7 separate regions of the Homo sapiens genome follow, and regions 2, 3, 4, 5, 6 and 7 are each linked to region 1. The links are contacts of gene promoters, found by promoter capture Hi-C in blood cells and fetal thymus (Javierre and others, 2016). All regions are on one chromosome and are shown on one strand. Each heading gives the region's core, a stretch centred on a gene start or on the middle of the fragment in contact. The rest is flanking DNA. Distances are from core to core; before and after follow the strand shown.

What was found. Contacts are between HindIII fragments. The CHiCAGO score rates a contact against its expected background, and 5 or more counts as called.
Region 2: a fragment that was not itself captured here is called in contact with the fragment with the promoter of ENTPD3-AS1 in region 1 in 2 of 17 cell types (naive B cells and naive CD8 T cells); the score reaches 5.8 in naive B cells.
Region 3: a contact is called between a fragment that was not itself captured here and the fragment with the promoter of ENTPD3-AS1 in region 1, in 13 of 17 cell types (non-activated CD4 T cells, naive CD8 T cells, activated CD4 T cells and 10 more). The highest score is 21.4, in non-activated CD4 T cells.
Region 4: a fragment that was not itself captured here is called in contact with the fragment with the promoter of ENTPD3-AS1 in region 1 in 1 of 17 cell types (monocytes); the score reaches 5.3 in monocytes.
Region 5: a contact is called between a fragment that was not itself captured here and the fragment with the promoter of ENTPD3-AS1 in region 1, in 1 of 17 cell types (neutrophils). The highest score is 6.5, in neutrophils.
Region 6: a contact is called between a fragment that was not itself captured here and the fragment with the promoter of ENTPD3-AS1 in region 1, in 8 of 17 cell types (naive CD8 T cells, non-activated CD4 T cells, activated CD4 T cells and 5 more). The highest score is 16.4, in naive CD8 T cells.
Region 7: a contact is called between a fragment that was not itself captured here and the fragment with the promoter of ENTPD3-AS1 in region 1, in 4 of 17 cell types (monocytes, total CD4 T cells, non-activated CD4 T cells and 1 more). The highest score is 8.9, in monocytes.

The regions. Positions count from the first base shown.
Region 1 is chr3:40,452,058-40,455,134 of GRCh38, forward strand. It overlaps ENTPD3-AS1 (ENTPD3, EIF1B and MYRIP antisense RNA 1), which reads right to left and starts at 1,251. Exons shown (of 4, transcript NR_040100.1): 1 at 1,065-1,251. RefSeq lists enhancers at 985-1,054, 1,075-1,144. The HindIII fragment of the contact is 7,917 bases long and covers 57-3,077 here.
Region 2 is chr3:42,031,325-42,034,401 of GRCh38, forward strand. It overlaps a transcript of TRAK1 not described here. Among named protein-coding and RNA genes, the nearest start is that of TRAK1, 58 kb to the right of the region's middle. The HindIII fragment of the contact is 8,766 bases long and covers 1-3,077 here.
Region 3 is chr3:42,013,626-42,016,702 of GRCh38, forward strand. It overlaps a transcript of TRAK1 not described here. Among named protein-coding and RNA genes, the nearest start is that of ULK4, 53 kb to the left of the region's middle. RefSeq lists silencers at 87-156, 197-356, 417-486 and enhancers at 677-816, 1,210-1,711. The HindIII fragment of the contact is 945 bases long and covers 1,085-2,029 here.
Region 4 is chr3:41,992,916-41,995,992 of GRCh38, forward strand. No RefSeq gene overlaps it. Among named protein-coding and RNA genes, the nearest start is that of ULK4, 32 kb to the left of the region's middle. The HindIII fragment of the contact is 8,427 bases long and covers 1-3,077 here.
Region 5 is chr3:41,972,544-41,975,620 of GRCh38, forward strand. No RefSeq gene overlaps it. Among named protein-coding and RNA genes, the nearest start is that of ULK4, 12 kb to the left of the region's middle. The HindIII fragment of the contact is 3,700 bases long and covers 1-3,077 here.
Region 6 is chr3:41,953,786-41,956,862 of GRCh38, forward strand. ULK4 (unc-51 like kinase 4) reads right to left here. Exons shown (of 37, transcript NM_017886.4): 2 at 837-1,022. The coding sequence starts at 974. It also overlaps the pseudogene RPL36P20. Among named protein-coding and RNA genes, the nearest start is that of ULK4, 6.8 kb to the right of the region's middle. The HindIII fragment of the contact is 6,668 bases long and covers 1-3,077 here.
Region 7 is chr3:41,912,685-41,915,761 of GRCh38, forward strand. It overlaps ULK4 (unc-51 like kinase 4), which reads right to left. Exons shown (of 37, transcript NM_017886.4): 9 at 123-215. Among named protein-coding and RNA genes, the nearest start is that of ULK4, 48 kb to the right of the region's middle. The HindIII fragment of the contact is 3,179 bases long and covers 170-3,077 here.

The DNA of each region.
Region 1 (3,077 bases), core at 1-2,500:
ACCTAAGTCACTTTAACACAGAGATACAGCTTCAATTTACAAGCAGCCAGTTGCAAAGCTTCAGAAAAGGTTTTCAAAAAAACAGGACAATGGGTCCACTCTGCAGTCTAGGCCTGATGTTGACCCTTTTTCACAGTCCTGCTTTGTTTTGAGGCTATTAAAACCCTGCTTCATTTAAGTTCCATCTAAACTTTACACTTCCTCAAAATCCTGTAACTTTATATTTTCCTTCCCCTGGTAAAATGTCCCATGGTGTCTCTGGTGTGCAATCTCCCTCATTAAAAAAGATCGATAGACCTGGTTTTGCTGACTACAGGTTTGTCCCTGGTGGTCTTAGGCTGACTGGGCTTGAACAGTCTTGCTCAGCTTCAGGGTTCCTAAGATTGCAAATTTCAAAAACTGATACAACAAACATTTTTTCACTCCTAAATACAAATGCACCTGTCCACGTTGCCAGGTAGTTATGCACATGGCTACCATGTCAATTTGGTCATAACTAGGGTTAGGTCACTTCTCTGGAAGGTTAGTTATTAAGAACAAGAAAGAAAGTCAGGGTTCTGCACAGCTTTTGGTTTGATTCTTGTACTGACTTATGTTTCTTTTTCTTTGGGGCTACAGGTAAATATTTTGTCTGCTAAACTGACGCCCCCATCGCCAGTGTCTGAACAAACAAAACTGAGACATATCTAGTCAGCTGAAGCTGACAAATACAGGGGCCAATCTGGTTACAGGCAGGCAGTCCTGGCCTCGTGACACCGCAGAGACTGTGGGACAAGTGGACGTGCTCCTACTGTCCCTCGCATCCCCCATCTGGGCCGCGGGACTAGTGCCCTCAGGTCTATGACCCACTGCAAGAACCCAAAGCTCGACGCCCGCCCAGCCCTTCACATCCGTCCCTTGCAACAAGCAAGAGAAGAGGGGCGCGGCTTCAGGGGACGGGCGACGGTTTACAGGACAGCTCGTACACAGTACCAGCTGACATCCCCTAAGCCTGAGTGTCTAGGCCCCTGCCTCCACATTTAAGAGCCGACTGCGCCCCTTGGTGATTGGACGTCCGGACGCACCTTGAGTAGAGGCCAAGCAAACTATCGAGCCCGTCCAAAACGCCATATTTGTAACTGACGTCATCCTCATGTTGCCTTTCCTCTCTGTGATTGAGGAACCAATCAGTTGGGTGTAGCAGACGGGGCGTGGCTCTTCAGGTAGAGGCCGAAGGGGCTGAGAGCGGTCCCAGGCGGCCATCTTGATTCCTGGCATCACTCTCAACGTGCCCTCCCTCTCCGTGATTGGACGAGCAGGGCGGGCCTTCCGGAGGCACACAGCCGACCAACCAGAGATCTGCGCGTGCTCGATCTGGTCATCTGTTTTCTGACATCTGGAGCCACTAGCAGTTATCCTGTTCATTCCTGGGCGCCTGCGACCTTCCGAAGGAAACAAGACTTGCTTGGGGAAAGTTGCCTTGCCAGTATAGTGGAGCTTGGTAGAAACTTAAAAACTGCCTGGGGCTGCCTGGGATGGGGATCTCGAGATGCTTGTGGGGAGCACATTTTAGGAAACAGGGGGCTCAAGCTGCATGAAATGCTGCGGGAAATAGGAATGAGAGACGCAGAATGGTCGGAGAAAAAAGCTAGGAAGGTGTTTGGGAGTAAGATTTTGGAGTGCCTTGAATGCCAGACTAGGGAGTTTGGACTATATCCTGTAAGATAGGGGATAAAAATCAACTTTAAACAGGAGTGATATAACAAGATAATGTACTTTAGAAAATAATTCTGTAACTGTAGGGGGAGTCCCAAAGTGTTTCTCAAATTGTGTTCGGGGAAGTTCAAAGTGTGTTTGAGAGCTTGTTTTTATATGCAGATTCTTGCCCCTCACCAGACCTGCAAATAAAGTTCTCTGGTTGTACAGCCAGGAAACTGCATTAAAAAAAAACTTTTTAGGTTAACATACATTTGGTGAGAAAACGCATAAACCATATGGATAGGGCTCTGAATTTTCACAAGCAAACACTTCAGCCAGGCGGGGTGGCCCGTGCCCCTAATCCCAGCTACTCGGGAGGCTTAGGCAGGAGAATGGCTTGAGGCCAGGAGTACCAGATCAGCCTGGGCAACATAGCAAGACCCGTCTCTAAAAAAATTTAAAACAAAAATAATAACACACTCCCGTAGTTAACACCAGATGAAGAAACAACATGGCCAGCAGCTCAGAAGCTCCCCTTTTCCCCTTTAGCCACTGCTGCCTGCACCAAAGGTAAATATGATCATTACTTATAAGAACTGTAGATTAGTTTTGCCTGTTTTGAATTTGATATAAATAAAAGCATACAGGATATATTGTGTCAGCTTATTTGTTAGTGTTATTTATGAAATTCATCCGCATTGTTCCATGTAGTTGCTGTAGACTCCGTTGCTATAGATTGTTATCACAATTTATCCAGTCTCTTGTTTATGGGCCTTTGGGTAATTTCCAGTTTGGAGATAGTAGCAAAAAAAATGCTAAAATGAACATTCTTCTTCATTCATATCTTTTGCTTTGTAAATTATAAAGCAAGACAACAAGACCTAAAGACTGATTCATTCACTACCTATTTATTGAGCCCCTTACCAGACTAAGGTGAGAAAATAAAACAGAAAAGACAGCAAAGGTCCTGCCCTCATGGAACTTATTCTAACTGGAACGAAACAACACCTACGTGGGCAGCAAAACAAGTCAAACAATTGCAATTGTGATAACTCTGAGGGAAACAAGGTGAGCTAGAAAAAGAAGGGTGGGGACTTAACCTTTTTTTATGTGGTAGCCTGGTTAACTCTCAGAAAAATATCTAGGAAAAAATACAAGAGATAAGTTGGCACTGCTACACGATGAGTATTAACAATGGGTAGACCATTCCTGGCAAGAGAGACACCATGTATAAAGGTCATGGAGGAGGAGAGAGCTTGGCCCATTCAAGACCAGTGTGGCTTCAACACAATGAAGGAGGGATGGCATAAGGTGTATCTGGGTATTAAAGCATATGATACAAGGCCAGAGTAAGAAGTTGAGATTTTATTCCAAATATTATGAAAAGCAATCGAACTGTT
Region 2 (3,077 bases), core at 420-2,919, 1.6 Mb after region 1:
CCGTGCCTGGCCTTGAATTTTCAAAATTGAAAGTTTTCCAAAGATTCCTGACTGGACATGGTGGCTTATGCCTGTAATCCCAGCACTTTGGGAGGCTGAGGCAGGAGGATAGCTTGATAGCAACATAGCGAGACCCCCATCTCCACAAAAAATAAAAAAGTTAGCCAGGCATGGTGGTGTGCGCCTGTAGTCCTAGCTACTATGGGGCTGAGGGAGGAGAATCACTTGAGCCCAGGAATTTGAGGTTACGGTGAGCCATGATTGTGCTACTGTACTCCAGCTCAGGGGACAGAGCGAGACCTTGTCTCAAAAAATAGTTTTCTGAACATTCTTCAGGTGATTTGATAGTACTTCCTCAGTATATGTGTTGTAAAATTTGCTTAGGCTGTGTCTGGATGCAGTGCCTCATTTGAAATTTACTGTTTTCAAAATGATCCTTTTAAGAGTGGGGCTGTCTGAGGTGCGTTTCCAGTTTCCTCACGGCATGGATAATAAAATGCCCCCAGAGTAAAGATCAGAATTTCAGGGACCAGGGAGAGTATAAAAAGATTAAACAGCTGATCCAAGGCTCATCATTATCACTCTTGCTCACCTCAACAATCTGAGATTAGTTCCCTCCCTGCAAAGCTGCTGGCTCTGAGCACAGCATGGGTTAGGGGGCGGGGAAGGGATGGGGCATGGGGTGAAGTCTGAATTCTTCCCCATCTTCTGAAAAGTGAGGGGAATCAGCTCCTTCACCCGCAGGCCTGGAGAGACTGAGTCAGGAGTGCTTAGCGGGTTTCCTTTTTAAGTGTGTGCTGATGCTTCAAGTGGGTAAGTGGCTGAGGTTATCAGTAGAGACTCTAGAAGGTGCAGTTCTCTTGGAATCTGAAGTATTTGAGGACAGAAAATCATGCTGCTTTCTGGTGGAGTATGGTAAGAATAATCAACACGGAGAGTTGGGCTTGTTTGGGGATTGCAGTGAGTGAGGCATGCCTGGTTAATGCAGAATGTGCTGCTCCTTCCCAGGCAGTGGCTGCAAGGCCTCTTTCCTTTCCTCTGTGCAGTGCAGCGAGGCTGCCCATTGTCCCATGTTGTTCGTAGCCAGGCGTGTCTTGCCAAGTACTGTGGGAAGCCCCAAGATTTTGCTCAAATACACCCGGAGTGGGTCAACCTGAAAAAAAAAAAAAAAACCATCTTTGCAACCTCCAGCCTCTTCTCAGGCTTTTCCTCTATGTCTTATTGATATCCAAATAAATAAATATCAAACAAATTAAGAGCCAGATGAATACCATTGGCTGTCTTTTGTATTAATGTTGGCAACAAGACTATTGTCATATCTTTTATTTCCTCAGGGTTTCTTTTTGCTCCCAGTCTGGCAGCAAACATTTTGTAACCCCATAAAACAAGTGTGGTAGGCTGCTTTTCTTCTTATAATGAAACTATGTTGCCATTGGAATTAAAACACTGGCTGCCAGGCATAGCGGTGCGTGCCTGTCGTTCCAGCTACTCAGAGGCCGAGGTGGGAGGATCTCTTGAGCCCGAGAGTTCAAGGCTGTGGTGAGCCATGATTGCGCCACCTGCACTCCAGCGTGGACAACAGAGTGAGACCTACTCTTGAAACAAAACAAACCACTGACTGGCTTGTTTGGAAATGTGGGAAGGAATTTTTCCTGTGGAGTTATGATCAAGTCAGCTTTTTTAGAAATATAAATTCTAGGCCAGTGTTTCCTTAAAAACCAATATTTCGATGTGTTTGTTCTGGAAGTATTAGCACATCACATTCCCAGTGCTTTTTAATGGGCTCTGGGTAATTACCGCGGCCTCCCATCTCAGCCAGTACAGTAAGCCATTCAAGAGGACAGCCGGTGCTTATTACCCAGCAGCCTGGCAGTCTGTGACCCCTCCTCCTTGGAAATGTGTGAGGCGCAATTAGAGAGCTCTGGTGTGGGGATAAGGGATTGCTGGGGCATAAATAATGCAATCTATGCTGTCGTTCTGTGAATGTGGTGGGGCGGAGCGGCTTTGGTGTTTGGAAGCCTGAACCTCAAATTCTGGATTCAGCATGTTTAAGATCTGTGATCTTGGTAGCCTGGGTAATGTAGTGAGACCTCATCTCTACAAAAAAATTTAACATTAGCCAGGCGTGGTGGCACACGCCTGTGGTCTTAGCTATTGAGGGGCTGAGGCAGGAGGATCACTTGACCCCAGGAATTTGAGGCTGCAGTGAGCTGTGACTGGGCCACTGCATTCTAGCCCAATCAACAGAGCAAGACCCTGTCTCAATCAATCAATCAATCAATAATCTGTGATTTTGGGCAGGTCCTTAGCCTATGAGCCACAGTTTTTTCATCTAGAATAAGACTGTGTAGTGTGGTTGTGGGGATTAGATAAGGCAATATATATAAAGTTCTGCCTTGCTCTTGCTTGTTGACAGCATGTAAGATGCATTCGGTGAAGGAGATCTCTGATCTCCATTCCTTTGGGACAGGTGATGTGTTGATATTTTCTCTTTTTCCTCCCTCTACTCCCAGACTCTCTGCCTCATTCCTTGAAGACTGGGAGATTTGGCTCAAGATCATCTTCCCCTGACATACCGCTGCATCATTCTGGGTTCCAATGACTCACCTAGCATCTTGATCCATCTCCTGTCCAGTGGTGGCTTCTCCACCCTGCTTCACCCACTGCCCTGGTCATAGCCTGGACTGTGTCATCTCCTGGAGTTACCTGTTCATCTGAAATCCTGAGTACAATCACCTTGTTCCCTGAATGCCAGTCCTCCTATCCCTCTGCAGACATTCCTTGCCCCATCCATGTTCTGGCTTTTCCCCTGCACCCCATTCTTTCATCAGTGAGCACCCATTGTCCTTCCTTTGTGCACCTGGCAGGACTCTGCCCCTGCCTTCTGAGAGCTGCTGGAGAAATCACATAGTCACCTATCAATCCAGCATGGTGACCCTGTAAACCAGTGTCAGCTGGGTCATAGGGTCCTTTTTTAAAAAATTTGAGACAGAGTCTCACTGTGTCACCCAGGCTGGAGTGCAGTGGCACAATCACGGCTCACTGCAGCCTCGACCTCCCTGGGCTCAGGTGATTCT
Region 3 (3,077 bases), core at 307-2,806, 1.6 Mb after region 1:
GGAGGTGCAAGCCGCCCGCTCGCGGGGGAGCCATGGCGAGAGGCCGCGCGGCGGCGCCCGCAACAGTGCCCGCGTCCGCAGCAGCGCCCCCGCCCGCCGCCCCGGGGCCCACCCGGCCGCCGCCCCCGCGCGCCCCGAGCCCTTGACGCCCGCGCGCCTCAAGCGAGGCGTCCCCCAGAGTGGGGCCGCGCGCGGGAGAGCCGGAGCGCAGCCTTAGCGTCCCCGAGAGTCTCGAACGCCCCGACGACCCCCGCGTCTCGGAACCCCGGACTCCGAGCCCAGGAGCGCCAGAGCGGCAGGCGGGCAGCAGGAGGCGGCGGCGCCAGAGCGGAGCCCCCGCGAGTGCCCCCGTGCCGCCCGGCCGGCTGCAGCGGAGGGAACCGAAGCCGCCGGGCGGCCGGGGCCGGGCCGAGAACGACGCGGAGGAAGCCCCCACCGAGGCCCCCCGGCACCGCGCCTGCTGCCGGGTTGCGCTCCGTGCACCTCTTGCGGGTAAGCCAGGGGTCCGCTCACCCGCGCCGCCTGCGCCTCGGGCCCAGGGGCTGGGGAAGGACACGGGTGTTCTGGGAGTGTCCGCGTGAGATAGTGGCGGCGTGAGAGGCCGGGCGCCGGGACCCTGCGGGGACAGCCCTCCTAATGCACCGGCCGCACCTGCAGGAGGCCCTCGGAGCCCGGAAAAGTGCCCCTAGGGCATCGTGTCGGCCACGCCGCGTGGCCTGGATTCCGCGCTCCGGCACTCCGAGGTGACAGTGAGGCGACCTTCAAAGAGCCTGGAGCTGAGCGCGGGCAGCACCCCGATTCCCACTCACCCGCAAAACTTGATGAAAATGACATCATCTGAGCGTGTCAGAGAGCAGAGAGCCTTTAGAGCCCTCCTTTGCATCCTTGAGAGTTAACAAGTTTACTTTGTCACTTTCTTGACCTGATTTTTAAAGTTCTTTTCTAGTCTCCAAGGTCAAGCTCTTGCAGGTAAAAACAAATGTAATGAACTGTATCGTTTCTTCTTTTGTAAAGTTGTGTTTCAGGAAAGATGTTAAAAGTCGGCCTGCTCTTGAGGCTGGTGCTGGGTGCCCCTTCCGCTTTAAGCTTGCCTGTTTTAGAACCCGTGGCTGCACTTGTTCAGACACTGAAATTAGCGTCCGCTTTGAGAGCCTTCAGAGTATTCGTCGTTGGACCGCTGATTTTTTTTTTTTTCTGATATGCTTCACTGGAACTTTATTTGCTTCAAAAGTGTAAACGTTGTCAATACTGTCTGTGAGTGTGTATTCGGGACTGGTAACCTTTTCTGGAGGGTCTTTTGTTTATCTGGAAGGAGAGTGGAGGTTACCATAGGGAAACGGTCTAGTTCCAGGGTCCTTTCCAATTTCCAACTACAAGAGCAGCGAAGAGGAAGGTGCTCAGACTAAGCTCTGATTAGCCCTGGAGCCAGTCTGCACTGGGGAGGGTCTCCCCAGATTGAGTGAAGGGACAACAGGCTGGGAGCTTGACTGGTAGGTTTGGAGAGTTGGACCTGGAGTGACAGATGGCGCCTTCCCCTCTGTCTCTCGGTTTGGAATGGTCATACTCGGTTGCTCTTTGATCTTGGACCTCAGCTTTGTCACAGAGGTTCCCAGCCCAGTGTAGCCTAAGCCAGCTGGAAAGCTGAGCCCGGCTCTGGGGGATGCTGAATCGGTTTAAAGCCCTTGTCTCAGGGCTGCGAGTTTGGCAACAGTTGGGTTTCAGCTTGGCCCCAGCACCAGCCGTTTCCTGTTTGATGCCCCAGGGACCAGTTTCCCATCCCCAGCGCTCGCTTGAGGGTGTCTCCACTCTGGCTGTGTTGCTTCTCCTTCTCTGTGGTCTTGGAGTGGGAAACCTGGACTGAAATTCCAACTCCTCTCTATTGGCTGTGTGACCTTACTTAACCTCTCTGTCCTGCTCTCCCCTCTCTGGGAGACAATGTTTTAAATGGAGGTGTCTGTAAAAGTTTGACTGAATGACATGGGAGCGTTTTCAGGTCTCCTTCCAACATGATTGGGTTTGTAATTTGGTAAGCTTTTTGAGCCCCAACAGGGATAATAAAGCATATAATAGTAATTATTGTTTTATAGGTTTATTATGAGGGTCAAATCAGGTAATATAAAAGAGCTTTGGGCCGGGCATGGTGACTTGTGCGTGTATTCCCAGCATTTTGGGAGGCTGAGGCAGGTGGATCACTTAAGGTCAGGAGTTCGAGACCAGCCTGGCCAACATGGTGAAACCCCGTCTCTACTAAAAATACAAAAATTAGCTGGGCATGATGATGGGCACCTGTAATCCCAGCTACTAAGGAGGGTGAGTCAGGAGAATAGCTTGAATCCGGGAGGCAGAGGTTTCATTGAGCCAAGATCCCGCCACTGCACTTCAGCCAGGGCGACAGAGCAAGACCCCATCTCAAAAACAAAAACAAAAACAAAAAACATAAAAATAAAAGGGCTTTCAAAAATAATAGAGCACTATTCACATTGAATGGAGTTCTTAAACTTTCACTTTCCAAACTAACAACACCTTAAGGTTTGCCATCTTAAGTGGACTTTGTTCCTGTCATTGCATTCTGGTTTTTTGTTTTTTTTTTTCTTTTTGAGTCAGAGTGTCGCTCTGTCATCGAGGCTAGAGTGCAGTGGTGCGATCTTGGCTCACTGCGGCCTCCACCTCACAGGTTCAAGTGATTCTTTGGCCTCAGCCTCCCGAGTAGCTGGGATTGCAGGCACCTGCCACCACGCCCAGCTAATTTTTGTATTTTTAGTAGAGACGGGGTTTCACCACTTTGGCCAGGCTGGTCTCAAACTCTTGACCTCGAGTGATCTGCTGGCCATGACCTCCCAAAGTGCTGGGATTATAGGCGCAAGCCACCACTCCCAGTCCCTGTCGTTGCATTCTGAGTCCCTGCCTCTGACCTTGTATATAGTAGGCCTCTGTAATTGTTTGGTGATTCTTGAATTAACCATCTGGGCTCTCCATCTTGACTTCGTGCTCCCAAGGTAGAGAACAGACCTTGGGCATTCTCCTCTCCGTCAGCTGTCGGAGTTTTTATAGATGCGATTGTTCTGTAGCACCATATA
Region 4 (3,077 bases), core at 286-2,785, 1.5 Mb after region 1:
TGGGATTACAGGCATGTGCCACAGTGCCCAGCGAGGCCTTCTCTTTCTTTTTTTTTAAATTTAATTTAATTTTTTTTTTTTTTGAGACGGAGTTTCGCTCTATCGCCCAGGCTGGAATGCAGTGGCGTGATCTCGGCTCACTGCAAGCTCCATCTCCCGGGTTCACACCATTCTCCTGCCTCAGCCTCCCAAGTGGCTGGGACTACATGCACCCGCCACCATGCCCGGCTAATTGTTTTGTATTTTTAGTAGAGATGGGGTTTCAGTGTGATAGCCAGGATGGTCTTGATCTCCTGACCTTGTGATCCACCTGCCTCGGCCTCCCAAAATGCTGGGATTACAGGTGTGATCCACCACTCCCGGTCTCAAGCCTTCTCTTTCTAAAGGAGAATTTAACCTTTTAATATTTACTATAACCATTGATAACTCATTGGCCTTATTCTTGTCATATTTCATGTTTTGACTATATTATGCTTTATCAGTTTCTCCTCTATTGATTTAGGTGTCCTATAACAATTTCAGTTAACACCTAATATCTAAAAAAATTATATTTCTCCATAAAAACTATACACAGCACAGGATGAAACCTACATTTATTTATTTATTTATTTATTTATTTAGTTAGTTAGTTAGTTAGTTAGTTAGTTAGTTATAGAGGTTCTTGCTCTGTTACCCAGGCTGGAGTTCAGTGGCACAATCATAGCTCACTGTAGCCTCGACCTCCAGGCCTCAATCGATCCTCCCATCTCGGCCTCCCGAGTAGCTGGGACTATAGGTACGCACCACCACACCTGGCTAATTTTTGTATTTTTGGTAGAGACAGGGTTTTGCCATGTTGCCCAGGCCGGTCTCGAACTCCTGGCCTCAAGTGATCTGTCCGCCTTGGCCTCCCAAAGTGCTGGGATTGCAAGCATGAGCCTCCACGCCCGGGTGAAACCTCTCAATTTACCTCGTTTCTCCATCCTCTTCCTTCTCCTATGACTTCCCAGATTTTGTAGAAATAGCATATTTTAACTTGAAATTATATTTACTTTTTATACTTAAACATTTCTTTAGTAACCAATTCATTAACTATCTTCATCATATTACAAATTATTTAAACTTTTTCTTTTAAAAATATTTAACCACTATACTATGAGGAACAAATTATTTAAACTTTATTTTATTTTATTTTATTTTATTTTTTGAGATGGAGTCTCCTTCTGTTGCCCAGGCTGGAGTGCAATGGCATGATCTTGGCTCACTGCAGCCTCTGCCTCCCGGGTTCAAGTGATTCTCTCACCTCTGCCTCTGGAGTAGCTGGTACTACAGGCATGTGCCACCACGCCCAGCTAATTTTTACATTTTTAGTAGAGACAGAGTTTCACCATGTTGGTCAGGCTGGTCTCAAACCCCTGACCTCAAGTGATCCATCAGCCTTGACCTCCCAAAGTGCTGGGATTACAGGTGTGAGCCACCATGCCTGGCCAAATTATTTAAACTTTAAATCATACTGGTTTCAATGTTTATCACTATTTTTAAAATAAACCTTTTATATTAGAATAATTTTAGATTCACAGAAAAATTAAAAAGATAATACAAATTGTCTCCATATGCCCCACGCCCAGTTTCCCCTACTATTAACCTCTTACATTAGTATGGTACATTTGTCATAATTAATGAACATATACTGATGCTTGTTATTAATGATAGTCCTCATTTTGTTCATATTTACTTAGTTGTTACTGAATGTCCTTTTTCTGTTCCAGGATCCCATCCAGGATACCCCATTACATTTAATCATCTTGTCTCTTTGGGTTCTGCCTCTGACAGTCTTTCATACTTTCCTAGTTTCTGATGACCTTTCAATTTTGAGAATTGCTGATCAGGTATTTTTAGACTGTCACTTAATTGGTATTTGTCTGATCTTTTTCTCATAACCAGACTGGGGCTATTGGTTTTGGGGAGGAGGAGCATGGAGATAAAGGAGATAAAGTGCCATTCCCATCACATACTACTAAGGGAACATACTATTGGCATGACTTATTACTGTTGAGTCAATCTTGATCACCTCACTGCCTGAGGAAGTGTTTGTCAACTGTCTCCACTGTGAAGGTACTCTTTTTTTGTTTGTTTGTTTTTGAAACAGAGTCTCACTCTGGAGTGCAGTGGCGCAATCCCAGCTCACTGCAACCTTCATCTCCCGGGATCAAGTGATTCTCCTGTCTTCTGCCTCAGCCTCCCGAGTAGCTGGGACTACAGGTGTGCACCACCATACCCGGCTAATTTTTGTATTTTTAGCAGAGACAGGGTTTTGCCATGTTGGCCAGGCTGGTCTCGAACGCCTGACCTCAGGTGATCTGCCCACCTTGGCCTCCCAAAGTGCTGGGATTACAGGCATGAGCCACGATGCCCAAGCCATACTGTACTCTTTTGAAGGAAGTCACTAAGCACAGCCCACACAGACAGAGTGGGAGTTATGCTCCATCTGTTAGAAGTGGAGTTCTACATACTTTATTTGGAATTCTTCTGTATGGGAGATTTTTTTTCTTCTTCCCCATGTATTTATTCATTTATGTATTTATGTCAACATGGATTCATGGATATTTATTTTGTACTTTGAGTTATAATCCAATACTACTTTATTTATTTTGTTGCTCAAATTCTTCCAGCTTTGGCCACTGGAAACTTTTTCAGTTGACTCCCATGCCCCTTTGACATAAACCCCATGATTGTGGGTTTAGTTTTTGTTTTAGTATGTCTTTACTTCCTGGCATTACAAGATACTCCAGGTTCATCTTGCATCACTGTGTTTTGCATGTGGTCTTTTAGCCTTTTTATTCGGATTATTATTATTATTAATTTTTATTCATTTTTTTTTGAGTCGGAGTCTCACTTGGTCACCCAGGCTGGAGTGCAGTGACACGATCTCAGCTCACTGCAACCTCTGCCTCCTGAGTTCAAGTGATTCTCCTGTCTCAGCCTCCTGAGTAGCTGGGACTATAGGCGCATGCCACCATGCCTGGCTAATTTTCGTATTTTTAGTAAAGACGGGGTTTCACCATGTTAGCCAGGATGGTCTCTACCTCTTGACCTCG
Region 5 (3,077 bases), core at 365-2,864, 1.5 Mb after region 1:
CTTGAGGTCAGGAGTTGGAGACCAGCCTGGCCAACATGCTGAAACCATCTCTCTACTAAAAATATAAAAATTAGCTAGGTGTGGTTGCAGGTGCCTGTGATCCCAGCTACTCTGGAGGCTGAGGCAAGAGAATCACTTGAACCTAGGAGGCGGAGGTTGCAGTGAGCCGAGATAATGCCACTGCACTCCAGCCTAGGCAACAGAGTGAGACTCCATCTCAAAAACAAACAAACAAACAAACAAAAACAAAAAAAAAGAAAAAGAGAAAAAGAAAAATAACAACAAAAATGATCACAGTGGAAACGGAAGAAAAGCATTACCAAAGATAAAAGCAGAAATTAATGAAATAGAAGGCAAAAATCCACTAGCCAGGGGCATAAATTTAGAAGGCAGGAGATGGTTTCCATGGTGCTCTTCCAGGTTGTAAAGCTGGCTATGATGTCATGGGGTCTCCAGTCCTCTTTAGGATATAGCGTGCTCCACTCTCAGATTACCAACTCAGGGAATGGATTCTCCTAAAGACAGAAACTGGAGGCTGGGAGCTTCAAGACTGATGCTCCCGTTTACTCTGGAAGACCTGGGAAGTAGCACGATAATTCTTCCAGCACTAGTGTATTAGTGAATACACTGGAAGAGCCAGACACCGTCTCCCTCTTGGATGGGAGATTTTCACCCTTATAATAACAACCTAAGAGTCCTTAAAATCTGTGGCCTTCTGGGATGTCTTTTTCCTTTAATAACCATATTAATGATTCCAGCATCCATTGCACATACTTGGCAACTCCAGAGTAGACTGGATTTTCAGGGAAATAATATTTTTTGGTCTTTTCTCACAACAAATTCCTTAAGTCTTGCTTCCTTCTCATCATCTTATCTCTAGCACATGCTAGTCTCATCTGACCCTGCTTCCCCTCACACATTTGACAGTGTAGAAGGGGACCTTTTTTTCCTCTATTCTTATAAGTTCTGTGACTGAGACCTGTGACTTTCACTGACCAAAGACAGATTAACAGGAGAAAAGCATACAAATTTTGTTTGATAATATTCTAAATTTTATGTGCACATGGAGGCCTTCGTAGAAAAGAAAGGAAGACTCAAATAAATGACTAGACCCAGGGGCTTATATATCATTTTAACAAAGAGCAATAAAATGTAGAAACATGAAGAGGCAATGGAAAAAGAGATTTGAGCTAAGGGGCAGTCTCACTCTGTCACACAGGCTGGAGTGCAGTGGCATAATCTGAGCTCCCTGCAACCTCTGCCTCCCGGGTTCAAGCAATTCTCCTGCCTCAGCTTCTCGAGTAGCTGGGCCTACACATGTGTGCCACCACACCTGAATAATTTCTGTATTTTTGGTAGAGATAGGGTTTCCGCATGTTGACCAGGGTGGTCCTGAACTCCTAGCCTCAAGTGATCAACCCATCTCAGCCTCCTAAAGTGTTGGGATTACAGGTATGAGCCACTGCACCCAGCCAGATGTATTATTTTAGTAAGGTTTGTTTCAACAGATTCATGTTGGTGTCAATTCCCCACCACCATTGATAAGAATGTTCTCTTTTTCCTGGTGCAGAGAGGGTAACTTTCTGGCAGGAAATTTATGCCCTCCTTTTAGGTAGAAAGAGGAGGTTAGGGAACACTTCCTGCATCTGCTGTTTCTCTCATCCAAGTATTAACAAGCATGACCCTGAAATCAGCTGTCTCTCAGTTGCCTTCAGTTCAAAATAGTCGATATGTCTAAGTGGCATGTTTTGGGATGGCATGTTCTGATCTTCTTCAACAGCACCTTTAAAAGTACTTTCCTTCTCCTTCTTCATTCCCCAAAGCCCATGTTACTCTGTGACACATACTTTTACTGAATGTGTGGCAATAACAGAGAGAAGTTGCAGCATAGAAAGAAAACAACTTAAAATTGAGTATTAAACATGGTGATGGTAAGGGTAGTAGAAAGCAGGCACTTGCACAGTGCTGATGGGAGAGCAATTTGGCAGTATTCATGAAAATGGCAAATGCACATCCCCATTCAATCCAGCAATTCCACTTCTAGGAAGTGATATGATCTCGGGTCACTGCAACCTCCACCTCCCGGGTTCAAGTGATTCTCCTGCTGCAGTCTCCCAAGTAGTTGGGACTACAAGCACGCACCACCCACACCTGGCTAATTTTTGTATTTTTTAGTAGATACGGAGTTTTACCATGTTAGTCAGGCTTGTCTCCAACTGCTGACCTCAAGTGATCTGCCTGCCTTGGTCTCCCAAAATGCTGGGATTACAGGTGTGAGCCACCACACTCGGCCTGTACATCATATGATTTAAATGCTTATTTTAAAATTATATATGTGTGTATACAATTATATGTGTGTATATACACATGTAATATATAAAATATCTATAATGTATACATGTGTATATATGTGTATATACCTATACATTACAGATATGTAAATGTGTACATATATATACACATATATGCATTATACACATATGAATACATATATTCTGATTTTCTTCAATAGTTCTTTTAAAAGAACTGTTTGCATATACATTTGTATATGTATATAGGTATACACATATATATACATGTAAGCGTGATGCCTCACACTCACAGGTAACCTAGGGCTCTGCCTGAAGCTCTTTCTATTTTCCCTTCTCACCTCTTCTACCCAGTCTTGGACTTCCCCCTCTTTCTTCCTTGTCTTCAGGGAAAAATTATTTATAAGTCCTATTATGTAGTCTGGGGCAGCATTTGAAATCTCTATTAATCACTTCCCTCTAGATGAAACTGACCTAATCTGTTATCTGCAAACATCATTAAAGAGTTTTCCTAAACAAATGTCTCCCATCCCTGATATTTACCTTCAGCAATTCAAAGAATTTGCAGATTATTATAATTTAAAGTTTTCTCTTACAAATTCAGGCCAAACTATTAGGTCAGCCTCCCTGAACAATCTCCAATAGGACAAGGGAGAGGTGCTCTCTCCTTGTCCAGAATAAAAGCTAGTTTCCTTTCCTCTTTCCTGGTACAGAGTTAACACTGAAAAGAACATTCTTATACATCAATCTTGGCAAGCATGTCAGGTT
Region 6 (3,077 bases), core at 416-2,915, 1.5 Mb after region 1:
GCCTGTAATCCCAACACTTCGGGAGGCTGAGGCAGGCAGACTGCTTGAGCTCAGGAGTTTGAGACCAGCCTGGGCAACATAGCCAAACCCCGACTCCATGAAAAATACAAAAAATTGGCCGGGCGCGGTGGCTCACACCTGTAATCCCAGCACTTTGGGAGGCCAAGGTGGGCGGATCACAAGGTCAGGAGATCGAGACCATCCTGGCTAACACAGTGAAACCCCGTCTTTACTAAAAATACAAAAATTAGCTGGGTGTGGTGTCGGGCACCACTACAGCTACTCGGGAGGCTGAAGCAGGAGAATGGCGTGAACCCGGGAGGCACAGTGCAGTGAAGCTGAGACCGTGCCACTGCACTCTAGCCTGGGCGACAGAGTGAGACTCCGTCTTAAAAAAAAAAAAAAAAAAAGAAAAATACAAAAAATTAGCCAGGCGTGGTGGTATGTGCCTGTAGTCCCAGCTACTCTGGAGACTGAGGTGGGAGGATCATCTGAGCCCAGGAAGTTGAGGCTATAGTGAGCCCAGTGCACTCCAGTCTGGGCAACAGAGAGAGACCCTGTTTCTAAGGGAAAGAAAAAAAAAGAGTATAGTTTCCCCAATTTATACCCACCCCCAAAAAAAAGAAACAAAAAAGAAAATTAAGTTAGTCATTACTTGGATATGTTTATTACTCATTATTCAGGACTGGTGGCACTGAACAGATGAAGGTCATCCATTCCAGACTGAAAATGTGGCATTTGATATATCAAATTCAATGACTACTGTGAAAATGCTACCCCCTTCTACCTATTGTAGCTCTCTCTTTCCCCATGCCAATGGAAATACACTGACTTACCCAGTTGGTTATTTCAGGCCTTTTGCACTTATCAGTACAAAGAATGGCTACAAAATTGATTGTTCCCTTCCGTCGCCCTTTATAGACAACAGTCTTGCTTCCTCTTCCGATCTCCTCATACAGAATAAAGTTTTCCATCTCTGGGCCGACTTCTCACATACAATAGAATAACAGCATCTCTAGCTCCTAAGAAGTAAACAAAAATGACATTGATAAATGCAAGTTAGTTGCATAATTAATTAGCCTAGGATAATTAGCCTAGGATATTATATGTGTAAAAAATCTAGCAAATCGACAAATTCAGAAAATTCACTTACAAATGTTAAATACTAATGCTGATATTTTTGCAGGATGAACGAAACTACGGGGCAAATAAATAAAACTTCACAGCCGGCGCAGTGGCTCACGCCTGTAATCCCAGCACTTTGGGAGGCCGAGGCAGGGGGATCACCTGAGGTCAGGAGTTTGAGACCAGCCTGGCCAACATGGTGAACCCTGTCTCTACTAAAAATACAAAAATTGGCCAGGTGTTGTGATGCGCGCCTGTAATCCCAGCTACGCGGGAGGCTGAGGCAGGGGAATCGCTTGAACCCGGGAGGCGGAGGCTGCAGTGAGCCGAGATCGCACCACTGCACTCCAACCAGGGCGACAAGGAGAGACTCCAACTCAAAAATCAATAAATATTCACAAACCAATATTCAAGTTCCCATCAACAAGATGTTTTAAAAACACAGTGGCTGCCCGTGCCTCTAGGGTGGGTAGATATCCCAGCATTCCGTGCGGTCGGCCCTTCAGCCGCTGCCGCCATTGGAGACCAGCAGCCATGGCTCTGCGCGACCCTGTGGCCGTGGGCCTCGATGAGGGCCACAGAGTTACCAAAAATGGGAGCAAGCCTGGCCCAGCCACCGCCAAAGTGGGCAACTGACCAAGCACACCAAGTTCATGCGGGACATTATTCCAAAGATGTATGGCTTTACTCCCTACGAGCTGGCGCGCCATGGAGTTGCTCAAGGTTTCCAAGGACAAACGGCCCTCAGGTTCATCAAGAAGAGAGTGGGGGACACGTCCGCACCAAGATGAAGAGAGAAGAGCTAAGCAACGCCCTGCCCGCCATGAAGAAAGTGGCCACAAAGAAGGACTGAGGCCCCATACCCTATCCATAAAACCTTCACAGAAAAAAAAAAAAAAAGTGAAAATAACAGCTATTTCGAAAAACGGTAACAAAATCAGGGTATGAATTAGATTTTATCCAATGTGTCTCCATCTTACTTTCTCCGTTACAATGGAAACCTGGTACAAGGGAAAACAACATCTGCACAGTGGGATAATATATGTGAGGCAGGAGAACAGGGTCTGGAGGCAGGGAACCTAAGGCTGTTTCACACTGACTTCCTGTAACTAAATTGAAAGGAAAACCCTAACTTTCCACGCCTAAGTAACAAAAGGACCAGAGGCTATTCCCTTTGCAAATCCCCCACCTTTTCTATGCAGCAGATGACCACAACCAATCAGACTGATTGGGGCGTAGTCTTGGTTTGCAACTTTGTAACTTCACCTTAGCATCTGACTGGTTGCAGAGAATGGAATGAATGAATGAATGAAATGGAATCAATGAAATTGGCTGACTGCAACCAATAGACCGATTGCAGGCCACCACTTGATTTACCGGAGGTGAGCGTGAAGAGGCCAGTGGGAAAGCTCTAGGGGGTATTTGGACCGGGTATCTGTATCCCTGCCCTCCAGTGCTGCTCAGGTGGCTCCCACACTGTGGAGTGTACTTTCGTTTTCAATAAATCCCTGCTTTCATGCTTTTGTTGCTTCATTCTTTCCTTGCTGTGCTGGGCATTTTGTCCAGTTCTTTGCTCAAAATGCCAAGAACCTGGACAACTTGCGGTCAAGACCCTCTACTGGTCTTGACTGGTATGCCCCACCTAAACCTTATAAATTTTGAGAAGCAAAAGAGAAACATATGCCCCACCTAGACCTTATTAATTATGAGAAGTAAAAGAGAAAACAAGTGAAAATACAGTATAAACAAATATGGAATGATATTTCCATGTAATCCCTAGACTGCAGGAGTCAATCCAAGTATCATGAATACTACTGGCTCATAGGCCAAATTGGGTGTGCTGCCTGCTTTTGTAAATAAAGTTTAATTGGAACATAGCCACACCCATTCATTTATATATTGCTTATGGCTGCTTTCAAACTGCTATATATTGCCTATGACAGAGTTGACTC
Region 7 (3,077 bases), core at 509-3,008, 1.5 Mb after region 1:
GCTGGATTTTCTCCTACTACGAAAGCAGAGAAATTCCAGTCATTGATGTTGTATATTTAGAACAGTAATGGGCTTAAGTGTCCAGTAACTATGTCCCATACACAAAGGTAAGTGTATACTACCTGAGACTGAGATCTTCGACGCTTGATTCCTGATCTGCTCCAGCAAAAGCTTTCTTCCAAAATGAATGCTGCAGTAGCCTTGTCCAAGTCAATCTTTAAAAAACATAAATGTTAAAACTCTACTTTAACATGATTTACCATGAAAAATTCCCAAGACATGTCCCAATTACACATAGCAGATTTTACAAGGTACACATGTACCTTTGAAATCATTTTATATTTTATTATTTCATTTTTGTATGCTATTAACCTCTTTTAGACAGCAAGATAAAAAGAAACAATTCAGAAGCATTAAATGGTACAGAATGAAACAGTCTGATAACTAAGCATTAGAAGTTTCAGGGTTCAAATTCCATAGAGTCTGGTTTCTCCAACCAGCCTAGGAAAAACGGAGTCGATAAATAATTTGAAATTCTTTTTTTTTTTTTTTTTTTTTTGAGACGGAGGCTGGCTCTGTCACCCAGGCTGGAGTGCAGTGGCGCGATCTCGGCTCACTGCAAACTCTGCCTCCCGGGTTCACGCCATTCTCCTGCCTCAGCCTCCCGAGTGGCTGGGACTACAGGCGTCCGCCACCACGCCTGGATAATTTTTTGTATTTTTAGTAGAGACGGGATTTCACCGTGTTATCCAGGGTGGTCTCGATCTCCTCACCTCGTGATCCACCCGCCTCCGCCTCCCAAAGTGCTGGGATTACTGGCGTGAGCCACCGTGCTCAGCGTAATTTGAAATTCTAAAGTAAATATATCAGATATCTATAATCCTGTCATCCTTTATTTCACAACAGAGGCAAGATTATTTTACTTACCCTAACTGACACATTTAAGTTTTGGAACTATTCTGTTGGAAATTCATTCAGGAATAAATAAGAATATCAGCCCAGGTGTAGTGGCTCACACCTGTAATCCCAGCATTTTGGGAGGCCAAGGTGGGTAGATTGCTTGAGTCCATGATTTTGAGGCCAGCCTGGACAATGTGGCAAAACCCCATCTCTACAAAAAATACAAAAATTAGTTGGGTGTGGGGGCCCACACCTATAATCCCAGCTACTTGGGAGGCTGAGGTGGAAGAATCTCTTGAGCCTGGGAGGGAGAGGTTGCAGTGAGCCAAGATCACACCACTGCACTCCAGCCTGGGTGACAGAGTGAGACCCCGTCTCCGGGAGGGGGTGCGGCGGTGGGAGGAAAGAATATCAGCTTCATAACCATATACATTCACACCTTGTTTAGGAATCAAAATAATATTACCTAGCTAGTTCACTTGCATTAAAATGACTTTAGGTTGTATTTAAAACTCAGGCTCACTTTCAAAAGATTAAGTTTCACTACTAATAGAGTATACCTCTAGATATACTCACCAGAGTGGGAAAATTAAGCCTGACTGAAATTTTAAAACAAAAAAGAAAAGAATTTATAGTCGACTAATCATTCAAAATTTCTGTATTAAATAAAATTACTTCAATCAAAAGTAAAACACAAATAATAGAATTTGCAACCACATATAATATTCCTTTACACAAAGGTTCTTATGGTTCACTAAAGGAGAAATAAAAATAGCCAACAAAGTAAAATGTATTTTCATCCATCAAACTGACAAAAATGTAGATCAACAAGGCACACTGTAGATGAGAGTGGGAGGGAAGGAGCTTTCTAACATATTGTTGCTGGGAGTGTAAATCAGCACATGTTCCTAGAATGCAGGAAATGTATCAAACTTTTTAAATGCTCTTAGCCTTTGGCCAGCCATTTCATTTTGAGAAATTCACATCAAAGAGATAACTAACCAAGTAAACCCAAAAAAATTTTAAAAATTCACAAAAGGATATTTACTGTAACAACACATATAATATTCCAAATCAAGAGGCATTCTAAACGTTTACTTTTTTATAGGTAATTGTATATACGTTCTACAGCCATTTAAAATGACCAGGCAGCCAGGTACAGTGGCTCACACCTGAAATCCCAGCACTTTGGGAGGCCGAGGCAGGCGGAACTGCTTGAGGCCAGGAGCTCGAGACCAGCATAGCCAACATGGTGAAACCCCATCTCTACTAAAAACACAAAAATTAGCTGAGGATGGTGGCACGCGCCTGAAATCCCAGCTACTTGGGAGGCTGAGGCATGAGAAACACTTGAACCCAGGTTGCAGTGAGCCAAGATTGTGCCACTGCACTCCAGCCTGGGTGACAGAGCAAGACTCAGAAATGGAAATGGAAAAATATGCATAATGTACCATGAGAGAAAAAAGTAGGTTATGGAGTGGTCCCATGTAAGCAAAAAATTATATAGCATACAGTTATAAATGTAGGGATATGTGGATACACCGTCTTAAGTAAATTAGGTATAGTTACATCCTATCAAAAGATGTCTGAAAAATTATCCACCAAAATAACACTAATGTTGAAAGCATTCTAATATAAGTAAAGGATGTTTGTCCTACAGCTTATACAAAAATCAGCATTTCCTTCTGCAGTTTTTAAAATATATTTAATAAAAGAATGGATTCTTGTATATGCTACACTAAATTTATTCTCCATTTTATAAACGGAACCCTCCTCCCATCACCCCATCCCAGTTACCTAGTGACAGAACCAGAACTAGAAACTAGTTGTTTGGGCCTCTTTCCCACTCTGGTCTACCTCCTAGCCTCCCCTACCCTGTGCCTCAACAATGATTTCTAACATTGCCATCACTGACAGAAAATTCACAAGGTGCCTATTATCCTATCACTTAATAGCCCCATTATGACAGGAGTGTCATAAAACCTGTTTTTATGACACTCAGTTAACAGCATCTTAACTTGACAATATCATCCCTCGGTCAATAGTCAAACAGTTTTAGCCTGAAATACAAAATACAAGAAATGGTACCTCTTGGATTTGGGAGTTATAAGAAAATTTGTCAACTACTTAATACATGAAAAGAGAAACTGACTTCAAAAATTCCTCATGATTAAAAA